Regions from separate parts of the Homo sapiens genome. Here regions 1 and 3 are each linked to region 2. Evidence: promoter capture Hi-C in human tissues and cell types (Jung and others, 2019). All regions are on one chromosome and are shown on one strand. Each heading gives the region's core, a stretch centred on a gene start or on the middle of the fragment in contact. The rest is flanking DNA. Distances are from core to core; before and after follow the strand shown.

What was found. Contacts are between HindIII fragments. The study calls those that stand out against the background at their distance.
Region 1: a fragment that was not itself captured here is called in contact with the fragment with the promoter of EMX2 in region 2 in 1 of the 25 tissues and cell types used here (lymphoblastoid cells).
Region 3: a contact is called between a fragment that was not itself captured here and the fragment with the promoter of EMX2 in region 2, in 1 of the 25 tissues and cell types used here (lymphoblastoid cells).

What each region holds. Positions count from the first base shown.
Region 1 is chr10:118,080,828-118,084,140 of GRCh38, forward strand. The region is part of intron 3 of CASC2 (cancer susceptibility 2); the gene reads left to right. Among named protein-coding and RNA genes, the nearest start is that of RAB11FIP2, 36 kb to the left of the region's middle. The HindIII fragment of the contact is 4,931 bases long and covers 1-3,313 here.
Region 2 is chr10:117,541,429-117,544,446 of GRCh38, forward strand. EMX2 (empty spiracles homeobox 2) reads left to right here and starts at 1,318. Exons shown (of 3, transcript NM_004098.4): 1 at 1,318-2,245. The coding sequence starts at 1,840. It also overlaps EMX2OS. RefSeq lists an enhancer at 2,533-3,018. The HindIII fragment of the contact is 12,526 bases long and covers 1-3,018 here.
Region 3 is chr10:118,125,005-118,128,262 of GRCh38, forward strand. The region is part of intron 3 of CASC2 (cancer susceptibility 2); the gene reads left to right. Among named protein-coding and RNA genes, the nearest start is that of RAB11FIP2, 80 kb to the left of the region's middle. The HindIII fragment of the contact is 5,467 bases long and covers 1-3,258 here.

The DNA of each region.
Region 1 (3,313 bases), core at 19-2,518, 540 kb after region 2:
GTGTTCTACGTTAGATTTTGCACCAGGGTTCACTCAGGGTCTGCTGGTGGCTGTGAGAAGAACCTCTCAGCTGGAATGGTTCATGAGTGAATGGTAAAGCCTAGGTTTCAATTACTTTGGAGAATGGAACGTTTCTTAGCTTTCTTTCCTCATGAACTTCGTGGTATCATTTGTCATGCCATTTTGCCAGCTATGCACTTTTTTACATAGTTTTGTTTGGTTTGCAACTCACGAATATCAATCAAAGAAGTTGTTTCATTTTTAAGAAATGGCAAAGAATATCTTGCCTCCTTCTGTTGTTTCATAGGTGAGTTATATGGCATGTGGAAGCTGAGAATTCAAACTCAATTCATGCTAACTCTTTCCTAAAATTAGGAGAACATTTCTGATTATAACTCATTTCCCTATTTACAAGGTCAAACATTTTGACTTGTAAGGTACCAAACAAATATCATGCTTCTGCGTTTGCCAGATTATGTTCTAAAGATATTGACTGGTACATTGTGGTCAAATAATTTTGGGAACAGTGGGTTAAAGAGAGGTAGAGATGTTTCTTTACTGAGTCTTAGAGGCACTACACCAAAGTGGTTAGGAGTGTGGACTCCAGAGACCCCACTGTGATCTAACTTTTGATTCCACCACTGACTAAATGTGTGATCTTGGGCAAGTCAATATCTCTGCACCTCAATTTCCTCATCTGCAAAATGGAGTCAGAAATAGGGCATATCTCTCAGAGTAGTTGTGAGAATTACTTCCATTGATATATATCGTATATATAAAGCCCTTAGAACAGAGCCTGACACAAGATAAGCACCATGTATGCCCTGTATTAGCTATTATTGCTATAATTATCAAGTTTCTAAAGGGGAGATAAAGCAGTCAGTCTTTCCCAGTCTTACCTATTTGTCCATCCATCCATCCATCCATCCATCCATCCATCCATCCATCCAATTCTCTTCTGACCAATATAAACAGCCTGAAGTGAGAGAGAGAGAGAGAGAGAGAGAGTTTGAAAAGTAACTAAAAATTGCATCCTCGTTTGTATTATCTATTACTGCTGCCTGCTTTTATTGGGTATTTGCTTATTCACTTTTTCTTGTTTTAAAGAATGGATCAGAACACAATTTGAGGGCTATCCCATAGAAAGATTGAAATATTACATTATTTATCAATTAATTCCTGCAGGCTTCCCCAAAGTCCTCTCTCTCACTCGAGAATGGACATTTTGCAAACAGAAATCACAAATATACTAATGTCCTTTATTTATTAGCCAAATTTTGTTTGAGTGCCTGCTGTGTGCCAGGGACTGTTCTGGGCACTGGGGACACAGCAATGAGTGAAATAGACAAACATCCCATGTTTCATGGAGCTTAGATTCTGTCAGTAACCAATAAGCAGCTCTAGAAACCAATAATGAAGCCACAATCAAGTCATCAAGTCCGCTACATTTCTCAAGGCTTCTGAATACATTAAAAAAATGAACAAATTGCAAAATCAGATTTCCTAAATGTTAGTGTATTTCAAATGATATTTTATAAATTATTGCGTGTAGCACAAAATAAATAGAATAACAGAATATTTAATCTCTTTTAGAAATAATCTCAAAAGTAAAGAAGTATGAGACCTCAGCTGGGCCATAAGGGGCTCTTGTAGGCGCCCCCCCAACACCCGTACCTACTGACCTTATCCCACCCCAAACTTATGCTGGGTTTAAGTCTTGGTTAAAACTCAATGAACTAATCTGCCATTTTTCAGCTAAAATAATGAAGGTTTTTTTCCCTCTCAGCCTTTGTTCAGGGTAAATTTCTTAGACATATAGTTTGTTTTTTATCTACACTAGTTTTTTTAGTTTAAGGAGCCTATAAAATAGCATATCAACATTAAAGCCTTACATCAAATCAGAAAAAGACAGACGTGCAATTTTTTAAAAATTTTAAAGAGATATGGAGCCATATATGTCTCTGTCTCAGACTAGAATCAAGCACTGAAATATGACATATACGATGACTGCAATTCAACTCACTAATGTTTTGTTCCTGACATGCAATTTTGGTACATGATAACATTGAGTAGTTGTTTTGTTTTTAATTACAAATATAAAAAATGACACTTAACCAGGCTGGATGTTGGACTTTTAGATAATTTTAAGATAGGGAAATTGTGAATACACAAATATTTAGTGTGTTTGGTTAATAAACTCAGAAGTATATAATTTTTCTAATATTTTAACTTGTGTTTTCTTCTTCTTTTTTTTTTTTTTTTTTTTGACAGAGTTTCACTCTTGTTGCCCAGGCGGGAGTGCAATGGCGCCATCTCGGCTCACTGCAACCTCTGCCTCCTGGGTTCAAGCAATTCTGCTGCCTCAGCCTCCCGAGTAGCTGGGATTACAGGCATGTGCCACCACGTCTGGCTAATTTTGTTTTTTCAGTAGAGACAGGGTTTCTCCATGTTGGTCAGCCTGGTCTTGAACTCCCGACCTCAAGTGATCCGCCTGCCTCGTCCTCTCAAAGTGCTGGGATTACAGGCGTGAGCCACCACGTCTGGCCTGAGCCACTGCACTAGGCCGTGTTTGCTTCTTTGGTTATCTGATCAACACCAAGATCAAGCATTTTATATCTTTGGGAAATGCAGGACCTCAGAATTATAAATTTTTAGAGTTAGAAGGGGGGCTTGAAGACCCTCTCATTGGACCCACTCCTTTTACAAATGGGGAAACATAAGACCAGAGTGGGTAGGATCAGTTGTCTTTTGATTGAATTACAATTTTTGTCATGAGCAGAATATTTTATTTAGGTCTTACATAAAATAAGATCCTTGTATCCTACTAAAACCTTCTGTATTATGCATCAAATCATCAAAGTGTCAGTGAACCTGCCAAGCAGAAAGTAATGTTAAGTTTAAAAGTATTAAGTACTTTAAAACTGTTTGCTTTTGACATATCTTTTGGCTCAAATATTCATTTTAAAAATACAATCAAAACAAAAAGTTTCTGTTTTCTATCGTATAACCATTTCTAACTGAATTAAGAAAAAACACGGAATAAATGATACTCCTTTCTTTTTCTTTTTCTGCATTTGTACCTGGATTTCTAAATCCAGCCATCATTTTCTATCTCAAATTAAATGAAATGGGGGGCTGAGCAGTTGCCCAGTGTATTAGACCATTCTTGCAGTGCTATAAACAAATACCTGAGGCTAGGCAATTTATAAAGAAAGAGGTTTAATTGACTTATGGTTCTGCAATGTGTACAAGCTTGGCTCCCAGCATCTGCTTGACTTCCAGGAAGGCCTCAGGGAGCTTTAACTCATGGTGG
Region 2 (3,018 bases), core at 68-2,567:
GCCGCGCGAGCCAATGGGGACGAGGGAACTCGGTCCTAAAATCATCCCAAAACCGAAGGCGAGCTCGAAAATGCGGACACGGCCCGGGACCGGAGATGCGATCCGTAGTCGTTAGTTGCACTGGGTTTGCACAGCAACCACCACCCCCCCACCAACCCCGGGACAACAGATGGCATAATAATAATAATAGAAATAATAATAATAAAATAATATCATCTATAATAATAATAACATTGACCACACTGACAAAAATAATTACGACGGAACCTTAATAGTACAGTAGCACCATATCGGGCTCTCCCCTGACCTTGGACTGCCGGTCCCAGATATTCCAGAAGGAATTGTTTTGGGGAAGGAGGTGAGCACCCTCCCAGACAGAAAACGCTAGAGACCGTGGGGCGAGAGAGGGAGAGAGTTGGAAGCCCACTGCTCCGGCGGGGTCGGCAGCTCCCGGTCTCAACTCGCAAACGAACGAGCCGGGTCAAGAATCGCGAACGCACCGACCCTGGGACCTCGAGGCTAAGCGTGGTTGATGGGGTGGGAGGACCCCGTACCCCTCACTCCAGGATCCCTCCTGGCCTAGGAAACCGCTGGGAGTTTTGCTAAGTGTGGGGATTGGTATAACCGAACGGCGCCTTTAGCCCGGGAACCAGCCCCTGCCCGCTTACCCTCGCGGTGCTCTTGGGGCGATCCCAGTTCTCCCGACGCGGGGCCGCGTAAGGCAGCAGCGGCGGAGCGCTAGGCTAGAGGAATCTGTCTGTCCTTCTGTCCTACCAGCTTGGGCGAGGCAGGCTCGGGATTCAGGGGGCCGCAGCGGAGGCGGCGCCGGCCAGGGACTCTGCAGGGACCGGGGTGCCCCGGAGGGAGTGGTGCTGGTGGAGGAGGAGGCGGTGGCTGAGGGGGAGTAGGTGGGGAAAGAGGAGGAGGAAGAAGAGGAGGAGGAGGAAGAAGAGGAGGAGGAGGAGAAGAAGAAACTGGAGGAAGAGGAGGAGGCGAAGGAGGAGGAGAAGCCGCAGCGGGCGCCGCAGGAGCGAGTGAGCTGGGAGCGAGGGGCGAAGGCGCGGAGAAGCCCGGCCGCCCGGTGGGCGGCAGAAGGCTCAGCCGAGGCGGCGGCGCCGACTCCGTTCCACTCTCGGCCCGGATCCAGGCCTCCGGGTTCCCAGGCGCTCACCTCCCTCTGACGCACTTTAAAGAGTCTCCCCCCTTCCACCTCAGGGCGAGTAATAGCGACCAATCATCAAGCCATTTACCAGGCTTCGGAGGAAGCTGTTTATGTGATCCCCGCACTAATTAGGCTCATGAACTAACAAATCGTTTGCACAACTTGTGAAGAAGCGAACACTTCCATGGATTGTCCTTGGACTTAGGGCGCCCTGCCCGCCTTTTGCAGAGGAGAAAAAACTTTTTTTTTTTTTTGCCTCCCCCGAGAACTTTCCCCCCTTCTCCTCCCTGCCTCTAACTCCGATCCCCCCACGCCATCTCGCCAAAAAAAAAAAAAAAAAAAAAAAAGAAAAAAAAAGAAAAAAAAAGAAAAAAAATTACCCCAATCCACGCCTGCAAATTCTTCTGGAAGGATTTTCCCCCCTCTCTTCAGGTTGGGCGCGTTTGGTGCAAGATTCTCGGGATCCTCGGCTTTGCCTCTCCCTCTCCCTCCCCCCTCCTTTCCTTTTTCCTTTCCTTTCCTTTCTTTCTTCCTTTCCTTCCCCCCACCCCCACCCCCACCCCAAACAAACGAGTCCCCAATTCTCGTCCGTCCTCGCCGCGGGCAGCGGGCGGCGGAGGCAGCGTGCGGCGGTCGCCAGGAGCTGGGAGCCCAGGGCGCCCGCTCCTCGGCGCAGCATGTTCCAGCCGGCGCCCAAGCGCTGCTTCACCATCGAGTCGCTGGTGGCCAAGGACAGTCCCCTGCCCGCCTCGCGCTCCGAGGACCCCATCCGTCCCGCGGCACTCAGCTACGCTAACTCCAGCCCCATAAATCCGTTCCTCAACGGCTTCCACTCGGCCGCCGCCGCCGCCGCCGGTAGGGGCGTCTACTCCAACCCGGACTTGGTGTTCGCCGAGGCGGTCTCGCACCCGCCCAACCCCGCCGTGCCAGTGCACCCGGTGCCGCCGCCGCACGCCCTGGCCGCCCACCCCCTACCCTCCTCGCACTCGCCACACCCCCTATTCGCCTCGCAGCAGCGGGATCCGTCCACCTTCTACCCCTGGCTCATCCACCGCTACCGATATCTGGGTCATCGCTTCCAAGGTACGTGCCACGTCGCGGAACTGCAGCGCGCCGCTCCCGCCGCATCCTTCACTGCCCCCGGCCTGCTCCGGGTGGGCGCTTGGCAAGGCCTGGGCGGAGGTTCCTCCGGCTCGCGGGCCAGCGCGCCCTGTTGGGAAACTAGGCGGCGCGGGGCCGGGCGTGGTGTCGATCCCCAGTCTCCGAAGCTACGACTGGTTTGGAGTGATGGCCTGCGGGCCGCTTGACCCTTTGGGAAGGGGTGCGAACGGAGAAGTTGTCCCCCAGTGCGCTCGAATCAGAGCAGGCTGGGCTGTGCGTGCCCGGCGCCGCGGAGCCCAGAGCCCGCGGGATCCCCAGGCTCCTGGTACCCTCGGCAATGCCCCCAACCGTCCTGGCTCCGAGGGGCGCGGACAGGACTCGGCCGCCAGGCTTGCTTTCGACTGCGTTCGACCCTGTTCACCACCCACTTTGCGCCCCTTCAGTCCAGACCCGCGGCTTCTTAGTCTTCCACCCTCTTCTGGAGGCGAGAGGATCCTCGCGCCCCGGGAGAAAAGTATGGGATTTGTTTTTTCTTTCCTGCTTTTCGGAGGCCTGGGGAGGGGCGGGAACCCGTGCGGGAGGAAAGCTCCAGGGCTTGGCGCTCTCGCCGCGACCTGCTTAATTGGGGCGCCGAGCAGCCACAGCGGGAAGGCAGGTTCGGTCTGGTTTTTGTTTTTCTTTCTTTCTTTAAAAAAAAAAAAAAAGAACCTGGTCAGGAAACTGTCTTAGAGGGAAATATCTGTTCGTGTGTTTTC
Region 3 (3,258 bases), core at 203-2,702, 580 kb after region 2:
CTGTAGAACTGTGAGTCAATTAAACCTCTTTTCTTCATAAATTACCCAGTCTCAGGTAGTTCTTTATAGCAGTGTTAGAACAGACTAATACCGTACCCAACAGGTTATTTTTCCACCCCTCAGCTGCTCTCCCATCCTCCCGTCTTTTGTAGTTTCCAACGTGTATTACTCTACTCTGTATGTCCGTTTGTACCCACTCTTTAGCTCCCACTTCTTGTAAGTGAGAACATGCAGTACTTGATTTTCTGTTTTGAGTTGTTTCACTTAGGATAAGGGCCTCCAGTTCCATCCATGTCACTACAAAAGACATGATTTCATTCTGTTTTATGGCTGCATAGTATTCATATATATATGCCACATTTTCTTCATTCAGTCCTGCACTCATGGGCACTTAGGTTGACCTTAGGTTGATTCCATGTTCCTATTGTGAATAGTGCTGTGATAAACATACAAATGCAGATAACTTTTTGATATAGTGTTTTCTTTCCCTTTGGGTATATACCAGTTATGAGATTGCTGGATCAAAGAGTAGTTCTATTTTTTTTGTTCTTTGTGGATTCTCCACACTGTTTTCCATAGAGGTTGAACTCTATCCATTCCCACTAATAGTGTACAAGCATTTTCTTTTCCCCACATCCTTGCCAACTCTGTTGCTTTTTGATTTTTAATAATAGCCATTCTGACTGGTATAAGATGGTATCTTACTGTTGCTTTAATTTGTATTCTGTGATAATTAGTGCTGTTGAGCATTTTTTCCATATGTTTTTTGGCTGATGTATATCTTCTCTCTGCTTATATCCTTTGCCCACTTTGTATTGGGGTTATTTGGTTTTTCTTTCCTTGTTGAGTTGTTTGAATTTCTTGTAGTTTCTAAATATTAGCCCTTTGTCAGATGTGTAGTTTGCAAATATTTTTTCCCATCCTTAGGTTGTTTGTTTACCTTGCTGATTCTTTTGCTGTGCAAAAGTTTTTAGTTTAATTAAGTCTCAATTTGTCTATTTTTGTTGTGTTTGCTTTTGAGAACTTGATCATAAATTCTTTGCCTAGGCCTATGTCCAGAACAAGTTTTCCTGGGTTTTCTTCTAGGATTTTTATAGTTTCAGGTCTTACCTTTAAGTCTTTAATCCACTTTGAGTCAATTTTTGTACATGGTGACAAGTATGGGTCCAGTTTCATCCTTCTGCATATGGCTATCCAATTGTCCCAGCACCATGTATTGCATAGGATGTCCTTTCCCCAGTGTACGTTTTTGTTGACTTTGTCTAAGATCAGTTGGCTGTAGATATGTGGCTTTATTTCTGGGTTCTCTCATCTGTTCCATTGATCTATGTATTTTTACACCAGTACTGTGCTGTTTGGGTTACTATGGCCTTGTAGTGTACTTGAAGTCAGGTAATGTGATGCCTCTGGCTTTGCTCTTTTTGCTTAGGATTGTTTTAGCTATTAGGGTTTTTTTTTTTTGGTTTAATATGAATTATAGAATAGTTTTTTCTAATTCTGTGAAAAATGACATTGGTAATTTGATAGGAATTGTGTTGAATCTGTAAATTATTTGGGCAGTATGGTCATTTTAATTGTATTGATTCTTCCAATTCTTGGCACGGGATGTTATTCCATTTGTTTGTGTCATCTATAATTTCTCATCAGTGTTTTGTAGTTCTCCTTAGAGAGATCTTTCACCTCCTTGGTTAAATATATTTTTTTGGTAGCTAATGTAATTGGAATTGCCTTCTCAATTTGGTCCTCTGCTAGATTGTTATTGGGGTATTGAAATGCTACTTATTTCTGTATGTAAATTCCCAAAACTTTACTGTATTCACATTCTTTTGTAATAAGATATAATAAGAGGAAGTGAGCATGATGGTGGAGGAATAAACAATGTGCAGGGGCAAGGAGAATGGAATGTTGAACTCTGCCTGGCGGACTCTGGGCTGGCATCTTAGGAGGTGATATTTGAGCTTAGTCCTTAGGAGTGAACAGCGCTTGCCCCTGAGGCAGCTCATTTCCTTTTTGAAAAGTCCTTCCTTACATTGAATAAAAATGTGTGCTTCATTAATTTTTACTTAAACTCTGAATGATCATTATAACCCAAACCAATGACTCTTGAGGACTTTGATCTCAATGGGTGGAAAGACACCAGGAATGTATAAAGCTTGCTTTCAGTAAGTCTCTGCCTTATGGAGGGTCCCTTGAAAGGAATGTACAGAATATTCTCATTTCCTGGATAATAAATTCCTAAATAAGAATTTTTAGGGATCACCAGAGGAAACTACTAGCTAGTTAATATTTCAGCAAGCATGAATTCTTAGGCAAATGGCCCATCTTCCTGCTGCACGCTTCTGGGTAGCTCTCTCCTGCGTGCAGGAGGAAGATGGGAAGATACACAAGCAATGAGATGACATGCAAAGTGTGAAGAGCCCGTTCCTTGATCTAGAAATCTAGGAGATATCAGGGACCCCTCTCCTGCATAATCTATCACCACTTCCTGTTAACCCTAACCTTGCCTGGGCTCCAGCCACTTTTTCTGTCCCCTATGCCCCCAGTGTCTCTTCCACGAATGGTTGCAACAGCCTCCTGCCTGCTCTCCATTGTTTCCATTCATTCACATCTTTCTCTAGCCATTCTCCTTTCAAATAGTCAGGGATGCTAAAAACTGCAAATTTGATCATGTCACCCCAGCCAGAAGCCCTTCAATGCCTTCCCATGACCTGAAAATCAAGCCCAACCCATTTTACATGGTTTATAAGCCCTGTAGATGCTGGCCTCACCAACCTGTTCAAACACTTTCAAACCACTCACACCTTTGCTCTCTCACACCTACTGCCCCCATCACTAGACTTTTCTTAGTCCTTTGAACACACTGGGGCTCTACCTCATGCTCGGGCCTTTGTACAGACTTTTCTCCTTGCCTGAAACACACAAAACCTCCCTTCCCCTTCCTCCATCTGTCACTTCTTCTGCCTCCAAACATTCAAACAGCTTCCTCTTGCATTCACCACGCTCTCTCTCTCTCTCTCACACACACAGGCACACACACACACACACACATACACACACACCTCCTTAGTTTACTCACGTCTCAATTTTCCTCCATGGTTTAATTTAAATGGCACTTCCAGCAGGAAGCCAGTTCCTTCCTAACTTCCTTGGTCCCCCTCCCATCATAAGCTACCCCAGTGCCCCTGCATTTCTGCTTCCAAACAATCATCACTCTAGATTGTAATTCTTTGGTTAATGCTTGTATTCCCAGCTAGACCA